Regions from separate parts of the Homo sapiens genome. Here all the other regions are linked to region 2. The links are contacts of gene promoters, found by promoter capture Hi-C in human tissues and cell types (Jung and others, 2019). All regions are on one chromosome and are shown on one strand. Each heading gives the region's core, a stretch centred on a gene start or on the middle of the fragment in contact. The rest is flanking DNA. Distances are from core to core; before and after follow the strand shown.

Region 1 (2,997 bases), core at 24-2,523, 490 kb after region 2:
TCTCTAGCCTGGGGGACAGAACAAGACTCCATCTAAAATAAATAAATAAATAAATAAATAAAATTAATATGAAGGAGAATCTTCAAGAATGGTCAAATGGAGAATTAGAAGAAAGTTAAGATTCTTTTCATTCTTGCAAAATAGTGTTATTTTCGTGAAACATATTTGTAGTTTCATCCTGTCCACATCCATTTAGATAAGCTATTGAGACTAAAGAGAATAATTTAGAAGTTTTGTTTTGATTAATCAGTTGATACTCATAGATTATTCAAATTCATGTATATTTGAGTTAACATTGCTGGATAATTTGTAAAGTGTGGGTGGATTTTGTTTAGGATAAAGAGTGTTAGAGGTAGAAAACTTAAAAGTTTTTTTTTACTTCATTTTAGGACAACAATATATAATATGCAGTTAAAATTCAGTGTAACTTTTCTCTTAAAATTATGTTCTTTTTGGGAGAATAATGGCTATTACATGAAATAGAGAACCCAAAAATATATCCTTTGTATGAATTATTTTTGCACTCAGCTCTTTGTGCTTATTTTCTATAGTAAGCTTCCAAATTGGGAAAAGAAAATGGCATATAATCAGTATATCCAAGGTAGATGAACTCTTGAAGATATGCAGGAATTCCACAAGGTTAAGCAAAGCAAATCTTGTATACTTTTGGGCCATTAATTTACCTTGAACTTTTGGGAGAAAAAAACAGCTTACCATGACAACCAGCAAACAGCAAACGTTGCATTACTCTTAGGATGAAATATCACTAGGTGAAGAAATTTTTCCATTACATCTGATAGATTTGTGCCACGGCCCCCAAATCTCCTGGCTTTAAGATTTCCCACTCCATTGCAATGGCAAATAGACAATTTGGTGGAAAAATATAAGAATCACTGGACTGTAATAGACATCCTTCTGTACAATAGAATGTCCTATTAATTGATGAATACGAAGGTAAATGATAAATACATCAATACTGCTAAGTAATAGTAAATATATAAATGGAAACTCATATGGGAGTGATATCAGATCTAGACCATCCTATACTTTTCTTTAATGTTCTTTTCAAAACTGCACACATTTAACTTATAAACAGCAAAATACTCCCTTACCAGATTTATTGTTGCATAGTGGGTAGGGTCAGAAAACTGAACTTCTCTAGCTGTGCTACTGTTTACTATGTGCAAACATGGTTAATGGGCTTCACCTCTCTGGGGCCTAGGTCCCTCATCTGTAAAGTGAAGGGATTAGTTTATTCTCTTAGGTGTCTCGTAGCACCAAACTGCTGTGATTCTATTTCCTTTTGCTTTTTTATTATGTCTCATAAAAAATTAGGTCTCTCCATTTTTAGATTTCGCATATTTCTGTTCAACAGCATTATTTTCAGGTTCTCTTCTCCACTTCACATGTCTGAAAAAAATTAACATGGATTGGGTTTCCCATCTTTACTCATTTATCCAAATTGTCATCTTCAGAGGCAAATGGTGGATCATGAGAATTGTGATAGCTTGAATGAGAGAATCCCTGAATACCAGTGAGTCTAAGACGGTTTATTCCATAGAATATATTGGTGATACAAAGTAGGAGGGTTTGACATCTCTGTCCTTGTGCTTAGAGATATAGCTACAAATGTTCATCTCTGCCAAGGATATATATATTACTGGTCATTTGTAAATGAAGCATCGGGAAATGTGAAGTTCCCTTTTGAAGTTAAGAGCTGATTGTCACTCTTGGTTATTTCAGCAGACTACTTTGATTGTAAAAGCTATTCTTGGACACAGTAGCGGTTTGTTCATCTGTAAGGACAGGAGAAAGAAGCCTTTTCAGGTTCATCTATCAGCCTTAAGTCTTATTGACGTTTCATGTTGGTACTGTTCAGTCTCATTTCCAGGTATGATCCACTCTTACTTAGTCCTCCCTGAGGCTAAAACTTCAATGGTAGCTTGGATCTTCTGACGATGCTTTTATGGGGGAATGGGATTTGGAAAGCAATTGAGGGTTATACTACTATATATTACCAAAAACAAAATGTTACTTTTCTTTTTCCTTTCTTTAATTTGTTGAGACAGAATCTCCTCTCTCCTCTATTGCCCAGGCTGGAGTGCAGTGGCACAATCTTGGCTCACTGCAACCTCTGTCTCCCAGGTTCAAGTGATTCTCATGCCTCAGCCTCCCAGGTAGCTGGGACTACAGATGTGCACCACATGTCTGGCTAATTTTTGTATTTTTAGTAGAGACAGATTTCGCCATGTTGGCCAGGCTGGTCTCAAACCCCTGGCTTCATGTGATCTGCCTGCCTTGGCCTCCCAAAGCGCTGGGATTACAAGCATGAGCCACTGCACCCAGCCTAGTTTTATTCTCACGTAGTATATTTAATTGCCATACCAAGGGAATCCAAGTCCCAAAGGTCAAGTTGAGAAGACAATTACCAATATTTTTATGCAAGATTCATATAACATAATTATTTTTTGGTCAATAAACAATTGTGAGAATAAAGCTTTTTTAAGCTTTTGATGGCTATTATGTTAACTGTTAATATATGACGGGTAATGAAGTGTCAGAGGCTCATTAGATCTTTGAGCCTATTGCTGCCAGACCCTGATGATACTGAAATCGTATCTATCCCATCAAAAACAACACATAACAATTGGAACTGAGAAGAAAGAAAAAAAAAGAAAGAAAGAAAATATTTTTTCAGCTTCAATCAGGGTCATTTATGGTTCCTTTTTCTATGATTAGGACTTTGGGACATAAAAGATTCCCTGAACTATAAGGGTATCAGTTTAAGGAGGTATGGGAGTAAGATCCTCCAGATAACATATTAGCCAACAATAAGCATTGCATCCTTTTGAAGCTTTGTACTAACATCAAAAGTTTTATGATTAGGAGTTGAGAATTTATACAGTCTTCAGAATGTAAAAGAAAGTGTTATAAAAGCTAGTAGATGTTAAAATTTATTGTAATATAAGAGGAGTAATCCTGAATGTGGGAGAAAAA
Region 2 (3,368 bases), core at 167-2,666:
GTTTCAGAGCTGTAAAAGGCAAGGGATATGTACATTGAAATGACCCAGTCCCAGAATATTTTAGATTCAGAAAAGGTCAGAGACTTTCGTAACTAGCAATGACCTCCAGATTAGGGACCATGAATGTGCAGAGTGAGGACAAGGAAGGGGCCTAAAGCTGGGTCTACTGTAGAATAAACAGAATCATTTAAGGTTAATTATGTTCTGATGTGGCCTCCTTAAATTCTTTCAGGCTGGGGACAATTTCTAGCCCTTTAAGATCAAATCAGTGGCTTTGGACTAGAATCTGCTTAATAAGAATGAACTCCAAAGGTGAAAAAAAAACATAAAATCTAAAAATCAAAGGATATGCCTTTATAAATGTGAAAGTTTAGTTTGGCTCAATGTTGGTCAGTTTAGAAATGTGGGAGTAATCGGAGAGATGGCATAACTGGGGGCGGGAGGCGGGGCGGTGATTATACCCCTACCACTACCTAATCCTCAGGGGCTACCAGTTACTTGCTGTACACACTTTTAAAGTACTTTCTAATTGTGGACCATGAGTGGCAGAGTACTGCGGGCGGAGGCTTTTTGCTGAAAGCAACATTGACTTTTATTTCTAGGGAAAGTCTTGTCTGTAGATGAGCACCGTGGGGCAACGGAGAAAATGCTGACTTTCTTGTTTAAAAAAAAAAAAAATTTCCGTAAGCGGCCCTCCAATGGTCCGTCCACTCAGCAGGCCAGCTGTCCCAGGCCTCTGCCAGGGAGGGAAGACGAGTGCTTCAGTGCATGGCTTCGGTGAGCCCTTTAAATCCAGCTTCCCCTGCCCCCACCAAGAGGCTCCCTTTCCCTGACAGGTGTTTTCCCAACTCCGGAGGCCCAGGATTTTGGGGAGTGGCTGAGCCAATAAGATTTCCCTTTGGAAGGGGGGGGGAAGGGCGTGGCTAGTTGGGTCAGAGCATGGGCGGGGTTTGCGCGGCTGAGCAGAGCCGGCCTGGTTGCGTGGAGGGTTGTTTTATTCCCACCGCCCCCCGCACCTTTTTTTTTTTTTTTTCTGGAGTCTTATTAATTTCTCTGTGGGCTGCAGCTGGAGACCGCGGAGCGCTGGAAATGACGCTCGGAGCTTTAATTACCGCAGCCGCCGGACAAGTGTGAGGAAAGCTGAGAGGAAAAAGAAGGACGGGATCCGGGGAGAAGCGAGAAGCTCCCCCCGCCCCGCTCCCCTCCCGATTTGGACTGGAGGTGCAAGGAAACTGAAGAAGGAGCAGAACATAGCCCGGCTGCGGGGAGAGGCCGGAAACCTACCGCCTCTTTGCAATCAACTTTTTTTGGAAACCTTTCGCCCCCCTTCCTTTTTTATTGTTGACCAACCAGTGAGAGAGAGAGAAAGTGAGGAGGGAGCGAGCAAGCGAAGGCTCACGCGGGGAAATAGCTGCACAGTCCGGCCCAGAGCGCCAAGCGCACACACCGAGCACACTCCCACACGCGCACACACGCGCTCACACTCGCCCCCTCCTCGGGCCCCGGCCCTGGACCCGCGGGCGCGGACTCGGTCGCCCGCCCTGGGAGTCGCCACACCGCGCGCGCCGCGCCCGCCCCCCTCGCACCCCCACGCGCGCCCGGCTGGGGGATCTCCTCCGCGTGCCCGAAAGGGGGATATGCCATTTGGACATGTAATTGTCAGCACGGGATCTGAGACTTCCAAAAAATGAAGCCGGCGACAGGACTTTGGGTCTGGGTGAGCCTTCTCGTGGCGGCGGGGACCGTCCAGCCCAGCGATTCTCAGTCAGGTGGGTTCCTTCTGGCACTCCGGTCGCCGAACCTGCAGCCGCCGGCGGGGCTGCCTCGAGTGGCTCCCCTGCCCTCTTCACCCATCCCGGGAGGCGTGGAGGGACCGCTTGACCGGGGCCTCTTCCCTGGGCTTTCGGTCACCCCTCTTTCCATTTGAAACTTACCCTGTATGTGTGCGTTTGCTTTATTTATCGTGAAAAATCACTCTGAGTCCCTCTTTTCTCTCCTTAACCCCCTGCTTTTCTTTCCCGAGCGTTTTGTTTGGGAGCCTAAGCGGGATCCCTTCTGGTGGCGCCTGTTGTTCGGGACATGGGAGACCCAAATCCCCAGTCAGAGGAGACTCTTCTGTCCCTGTCGGGTCCCCGAGGGCAGAACCCGCACCGCCGGGGCCGCGGTCCTGGGGCGGTGCTGGCTGGGCCTCTCCCGAGCCGAGCCCGAAGGGCGGTGGAGAGCGGCGCTCAGAAAATCGGGCTTTGCACCTGTGTGTGCTGCTGGCGACCGCTGCGCCCCCAGTCGCCCGAGCCTTGTGGCGTCAGACGCAACTCGCGCCCAGCCCGGGCAGCCGGAGTGCAGCAGGCGGGCGCGCCTCGGTCCGGGGCCCGGAGTTCTGGGCCTCTTCCGCCGGCTTCCCGGAGCCCTCTCCCCATTGACTTGAGGGGCGCTTACTCGCCTGCCTGACCTCTTAAAAAAAAAAAAAAAGGCTTGGCACACTTGAGCCAGAAGCCCGGCCTTCCCGTCGGTTGCCGTGTTTGGCTCCGGGAAGAGTTCTTCCTGTAGTTCAACTTGCTATTGGCCGGAGTCCTTCAAACTTGTCTGTTTACTGCCCGGCCAGGCTGCCGAGCCTGCGGGTCACTGGATCCACCCGAGGCGAAAGCGGCAGCGGCGATGGGTGCGCGGCCACTGCTTGCTGGAGAGCTCGAGCCCCAGGTACCTGGGCAGGCAAAGGGCTAATTGACCCCGAGAGGCAGCGCGGCGGGGCTGGCCCGCCACGGCTTGCAGGACTAATGACAGCACCTGCAGTGCAATGGAGCTCAAAGTTTCTGACACTAGAGTTTCCTGGGGATGAAAGTGGGACGGGAGAGGTCTGAGGAGGACCGGTGTCTTGACGTGGCCAAGGGGTGCCTTTTGGAGAGCCAGAGAGATTTCCGAAACCATCCAGGGATGGTGACTGGAGCGTGGGAAGTAGCTTGAGGTGATAAAGCCCCCGGGAGTGGCGATAGGGAGCGCTTTAGGCCCCCGGAGGGTGTCCTTCTGACCTCACCAAGAAAACGGCTAGCTGTAGTTTTCCCGCTCCGCCGCCGCCGCCGCCGCCGCCTCCTTTGCCTAGTAAATAACAAGTTACAATTATCGAGTCTTTCAAAATGACCTTCGAATGGCACATGTGAGGCGTTTGTGCTGGCCGTTTGCACCCTCCCAATTACTCCGAAATTCTTCACGCATACCAGGTCCCGCGCTCCAGCCACCTCCGGAATCACACCAACACGGACTTGACATTCCAAGCGGCCTCTTAGATACATCTCTTTTTATCTCCCTCCCCACTTCGAGTCCCTTCATATTTTCCCTCAATGGGTTGATTATGCACATTGACCCATTCAAAG
Region 3 (3,217 bases), core at 116-2,615, 290 kb after region 2:
GGTGTGCAGGCTAGGAGTGATAGGTTATACCAGATAGCCTATGTGTGTAGTAGGCTACACCATGTGGACTTGTGTAAATACACTCTGTGATGTTCCCACAGTGACCAAAATGCCTAACGATACATTTTTCAGAACATATCCCCTTCATTAACTGGCATATGACTTTACTTAACTACTTAACTAACTTTTTAACGGCAACCCAAAAATTAGGCATGAAATGATTAATTTATCTCAACCTCTGCACAAATGCCAAGAACAGAGTGGTTTAGACCCTTGTTTTCCAAGTGTGTTCTGCTAACCAGCTGCATGGGCAAAACCTGAAATCTAGTTAGAAATGCAAAAGTATGGGCCCCACTCCAGACTACGGAATCAGAACCTACATTTTAACAAGATCTTAAGTGATTCCTATGAACATGAAATTCTGAGAAGAACTGGTTTTGATGAAGAAGAGAAGCAAATTTACTTATTATAGGTTTTTTTAATGTAATGGAAAAAGTAATGAGAAAACTGATAAGATCAAGAAAAATGCACCAAAATGTAGTCATATAATAACTACCTGAGATGTTCACTCAATTTTCATTTACTTCAGCATTATTAAATATTTAATTTTTATTTGTAGTTACAGCTTCAATCCCATCTCACTTTTATTGCTTTGTTAAATTCATATACAAAATAAGAGGGTTACCAGGAAATTTGTAACAACTTTTAATTGAACATGTTAGTCAAGGAGCCCCAGAACGATTACAGATTATGTGGTATCACTTTGGCGACTGCTACTCATGATGTTTATTCACATTTAATAGAATAAATCTACAGACATTTGATTCTAAGAAAAGTAAGCTAATGAAGCATGTAATATATAACTGACGACTTTTCTCAATGTAAACATAGGATGTAGATGTCAAACTGTCATGAATATTAGAAGAAATGCAAATGATGTTATGCAAATTTTCCCACAAGATGCTCACTCATTGTAATGTATCTTTTGATTATGTGTCTGAGCATCTAATGTCTGTAGATGATACTCTAAAGATATGTGTCACTTTTCAACTTTTAATTTTTACAATACATATGTCTGCATTGGAATAGAAGCTTCTGCCATCACACCTACATGTGTAAGTGATAGCATCTGTGACTCTATATGCTATCTTCTCTCTTTTTATTATAGATGACCTGTCTGTCTAAAAGTCTCATTATTCTTTCCTCTATGATCATCAGCATAAAAGGATGATATTTATCCAGTATTTTAAAAACTTTCTTTGGACCCCAATTTTTCCCCTGGCTACATCCTGATTTCTTTCCTTTCCAAGAAAAAACAAGTCTTAGAAGTCTAGCTGAATTTCACTATCTCTAATTTTGCTCCTCCATCTTTTCTTGAAATCACTCCAGTCAGCCAGTGGACCTTACCATTTTACTAAAATGACTCTTACCAAAGTCCAAAATGACCTTCATATGGCATGCTTACATTTTAGTTTTAGTCTTCGTTGATCTATCAGCAGCATTTGACACAGACGGTCATTCTCTTCTTTTTGAAACACTTTCTTAACATGGCTTTCATGACACCAAAATTCCTCCTACCTTTCTGCTCTTCTTAATCTCTTTCATTCATTTGTGTTTACCTCCTCTACCTCTAAATGTTGGAGTTCCCCACAGGGATTAATTCTAGGATACCTTTTTTCTATCTACAGTCATATCCATCGTCGTGATTTATTTAATGCTGTATATAAATGACCCCTCAAATTTATATGTCATCGCAGTAAATTGCAAATAGATTCTTTTAGTTGCTTAAGTCAGACACCTGGAACGTATCTTTGACCTTTTCTCATCACTGCCCTTATCCACATGCCAAACATTTTGAGGTTCTACTTTAAAAATATATCTAGAATCCAACCACATTTCAACACCTCCATTGTCATTACCCTTGTAAAAGCTACCCTTCTCACTTGCTTGGATTTTTGCAGTGGCTTTCTGTCTAGTCTTGTTTTTACCCTTGTGATCCATTGTCAGTATAAAAGCTAGAGTGCTAAAATGTAAATCAGACCATGGCACTCCTCTGGTTAGTGGTTAACTTCCCATGGCTTCCTATATCTTTTTGACTAACAGCCAGCAATGGATCTTCAAATAACTACATGGTCTGACCACCTGTCACCTTTCTAAATTCATTTCCTACCATTTCACCCTTGCTTGCTTTTCTTCTGAAGTATTAACCTTTTTTTTAAAAAATACCTAAAATATATTGGGCACACCCCTACCTCAGGATATCTGCATTTGCTATTCCTTTTGCCTGTATAGTTTTCTGTCATATGTCTGCATGGCTTCCTCTCTCACTTTCTTCATCTAGTTTCCCAAAAGTCCTCCAATCAAAACTTGTAAGTTCCTGAAAGCTACTGATCCTCATTTTTGCTTTTTATTTTTTCCTTATTCCTTACTACTGTCAAAAGCATGTTATGTTTTACCTATCGTGTCTGTTTTCTCTTCTCACTACGATATGAGGTACTTGAGGACAGGGATTATGTTTTTAGTTTATTCCCTGCTGTTTTTCAAGTGCCTAGAATGATGCCTGCTGCATATTAAATATGAATAAATGTTTATCAAATAAATGAATAAATAAATGAATGTATACATGCTGGATGCTTTTAACTTCTTAGACTAATATGGCAGTTTTCAATAAGCTTCTAATAAGAGCATTTTTGTAAATAAAAAGCAAACTGTATATATAATTCTTCCTAATAGAAATTTTGTGTCTTACTGGAATTCAGGATGTAAAGACATTTTAGATTGAGTCAAGTATATCCTCAATAGAATAACAAGTTTTCAACTCAGAAAATTTGAAATAATTTTGTACCCATCAACTTGAAGCTTAGTTGCTATTGCCAGCCCTAGACTATTTGATAAACAAACTAACTCCATAATTGTGTGCCAGAGTTTTAAAACTTCCCCTTGTTGCAAAATCTCTCAGTCAATATCAGAAATTCACACCACTATTTATTTGTGAAAATCTTTTTAAAAATAACTGTGTTAGTAGTATTTAATTTTGACAAATGGAAATAAGAAAACAGGGGAGCAGGGCTTTTCCTCTTTTACTTTTTACCCTTGTGAACTGATAGCATGGTTTTTTTTCACCATAATCTTATTTATTTATTTATTTTTGACTAAAAACAGAAAACAACAGGGCTCTGTGTGGTCTGCCTAGAACGTGAAGGGAAGATGTTTGAAT
Region 4 (2,974 bases), core at 418-2,917, 320 kb after region 2:
CATTAACAACAGGATAAGTACAGAGGTACATGGAACAATGAAAGTATATCATTGGGAGATATAGCTTGGTCAGAAAATTTTACCCCAGCATTATTATTTGACTGAACACTGAGGGATAAGAAAGCCTTAATTGAATATAGCAGGGAGGGAAGGACCTTCCAGCCAGAGAAAAATATGTGCAAAGACATTTTGGCAAATGGTTGGTCATTGTTAACATATCATCTGTTGCCATCTCAAACAAGATGGGAACTAGGGATACACACAAGAAGTCAGCACCTGCTATATATTATCCCAGGAACAAGAGGTCTTAGGAGAATGCTATATTCCTATTCATTCCCTTCTGCTAAAATCATCAGAATTAACTCTTAGGCTGGGAAATAAAACCAAATCTCTGGTTTTTATAACTAGGTCAAAGCAATGCTGGGCATTTGGGATGGCGAATAAAAAGCTTTTTCTTTGTGTATGCTTATTTGTGTCCACTTGATAGTGTACTTATGTGTTTAGATTTAAAATAGATCTTCCAGTCTCCTGTGACATTAAGTAATTTGTAGCAAATATGAAATATAGTAGGTGAAAGTGATTTAATGAGTACATATTCTTATATACTCAAAAATATTGATCCAGTTATAAAAGGAGAAAAAGATTTTACTGCAATTCTCATTGCCTGAGGACTTTGCATTATGATGACTACATTCTGTTTTGATAAGCAAGTTTCTTGATCTTTGAAATGCTACAAAAGTGATTTATTATCCAAAATTAAAACTATTTTCTTCATCCTTAAGGTACTGTGATAGTTGAAATAGGCTTTTTACTTCATTCACCATGTAAATTTCCTTCACCTCTGGCAACACTGATGAAAAATCCCACTTTTTTTTTTTTTTGCGGGTTGATAAAAATACATTTTTCATTCCTGAATTAAATGTTCTATAAAAATTAAAGCCTATTTTTGAAGTTATAAAACTGTCACTTTATAATAAAAGGTTGTTTTCATTGACAAAACCAGAGGGTTTGTGCAGGTTTCTATTTTGCTCCTAAGAGTGTTTTGTGTTATGAATTTGGCCATGCACACAATTTACACTACTGTTTATAAGGTATAGGAGTAAAGAATACATAATTTCAGGGATGAATGATCAGGATATGGGGTGTGTGTGTGATGTAGTTGTCCATTGGCTCTTTCTAGCTTCTAGGGAGGCTCAGTAAGGGGCAGAGGAATGCTGCATACAAGGCTAGCATGAATAATATAATTAGATTTTTTATTTTTCCCCCCATTCTGGATTTAACTAACACAAGTGGGAGAAGGTGACCAAAAATTGGACTGTTTGGAATCATAGTATATCTTGTCAATCACAAGTGGAGGGAATTGCTTTAAAAATCTTATTATTTTTTATTAAATAATATAGAAAAATGTTATAATTTAGGTCTTTCTGACATGCTTGTTTAGCAGTTTTTAAAGTATTATGTGTGCATCAGAATTACAGTATAAATGTGACATAGTCACCTATTTATTGATTGCTATAAAAAGACATTATACAAACTTCACCCTACCATTTATAATTCATATGTGTATACTTTTCAGAAATGCAATAATGTTTAGAGGACAAAATAAGAAATGGTTTTAGTTCTACCATTTACCAATTTTTTAAAATCATAACTTCTTTGGGTCTCATTCTTTTCATTTTTAACATTAAGTAGTTAGATTGTAATCTGTAAACTCTGACACTTCATGATTTTATGATTCTACAAAATCTCTATTCTTTCCTTTCTTTAAATCGGGGGAGAAAATACTATTTTAAAACATTTTTGGCATCATAAAAAGGAATGGAATCTACACGAATCATTGTGTGGTCCCTGTAGATTTACGTTTGAGTGGTAAAAAAAAAATGGCATATACATTCAAGGATAAAAGTTCTAGTACATATGGTGAACTTTTAAAACATCTTTTGAGACTTTAAAAACAGTAAACATGGCTATCTTTGGGAAATCTGAATATCCCCATTCTATATATTATGTGTAAATTAAGAAACATACATGAAACTCATCTTTCTGATGCACACAAACCTAGGTTACCAGGATAAATCCCATGATATTGATATGTGCCAGCATGAGCCATTGGCATCCTGTGAGGTTGTGCAGTCAACCTAGAGTGAGATATGAATACTATAGACTCACTTTTGCCAATGTGAAATTCCTTATTTAACTAAAATGGAATGGCAATCTCTGGATTAATGATGAACAGTGTTGAAGGCAATTAGCTGGTTGACTAGCTCCAGGTTCACACATTATTAATTCTGGATGTTCTCTCACAGGCTTAAATCTTATGAGAACATGGCCTGGCTTTGCCCTCTATTTTCTTATTGTCTTACCATCTAGGCTTCCTTAATAGTAAGCAAGGATGCAAACAAACAAACACACAAACAAACAGACAGACAAAACAAAGGGATGAATGCTGTAGCCAGGATGTTTTACTCTTTGAAGAATAGAGTTAGGGAAAAATTTATCTTTCTCATATATTATGGAAGGAATAAATGGCCTATAATTTTCTGAATAAGCCTCCTGATAGAAAAAATTTAATTTGTACTTCAGATATTATTCATTAAGGCCGCACAGAACTGAAATTCTTACCAATTGAAACCCAAAGCTGATCCTGTAATTATGTGCAACTTATAAAAAAGGTTTTATGCCAATATTTCTAAAGCAGCTCTCGTTAGCAATGGAGACTTTGAGGCTATAGTAAAGAACTACTTTATTCTTATTATGTTACTTTTCATAATAATCATGTCACATGATGTCACAGAAGCAAGCAGACAGTATTAGGTATTCAATAAATATACTTTTTTCTCATCTAATTTACAAATAGTTATTGATCTTTGGGTTGTCATGATATGTGCTGATTCAACATTCTGTCTTAAGATTTAAGTGCACCAGAAGAAATATATACTTTATTGGGCATTTATTATGTTCTAAGACCTAAGGG

Evidence for each region. The method cuts DNA at HindIII sites, captures the fragments that hold promoters and counts their contacts. A contact is called where the count stands out against the background at its distance.
Region 1: a contact is called between a fragment that was not itself captured here and the fragment with the promoter of ERBB4 in region 2, in 1 of the 25 tissues and cell types used here (aorta).
Region 3: a contact is called between a fragment that was not itself captured here and the fragment with the promoter of ERBB4 in region 2, in 1 of the 25 tissues and cell types used here (hippocampus).
Region 4: a fragment that was not itself captured here is called in contact with the fragment with the promoter of ERBB4 in region 2 in 1 of the 25 tissues and cell types used here (dorsolateral prefrontal cortex).

What each region holds. Positions count from the first base shown.
Region 1 is chr2:212,044,529-212,047,525 of GRCh38, reverse strand. All of the region lies in intron 2 of ERBB4 (erb-b2 receptor tyrosine kinase 4), which reads left to right. Among named protein-coding and RNA genes, the nearest start is that of MIR548F2, 380 kb to the left of the region's middle. The HindIII fragment of the contact is 5,412 bases long and covers 1-2,997 here.
Region 2 is chr2:212,536,850-212,540,217 of GRCh38, reverse strand. ERBB4 (erb-b2 receptor tyrosine kinase 4) reads left to right here and starts at 1,416. Exons shown (of 28, transcript NM_005235.3): 1 at 1,416-1,769. The coding sequence starts at 1,688. RefSeq lists an enhancer at 2,385-2,885. The HindIII fragment of the contact is 8,258 bases long and covers 1-3,368 here.
Region 3 is chr2:212,250,698-212,253,914 of GRCh38, reverse strand. All of the region lies in intron 1 of ERBB4 (erb-b2 receptor tyrosine kinase 4), which reads left to right. Among named protein-coding and RNA genes, the nearest start is that of MIR548F2, 170 kb to the left of the region's middle. The HindIII fragment of the contact is 5,024 bases long and covers 1-3,217 here.
Region 4 is chr2:212,217,863-212,220,836 of GRCh38, reverse strand. All of the region lies in intron 1 of ERBB4 (erb-b2 receptor tyrosine kinase 4), which reads left to right. Among named protein-coding and RNA genes, the nearest start is that of MIR548F2, 210 kb to the left of the region's middle. The HindIII fragment of the contact is 5,379 bases long and covers 1-2,974 here.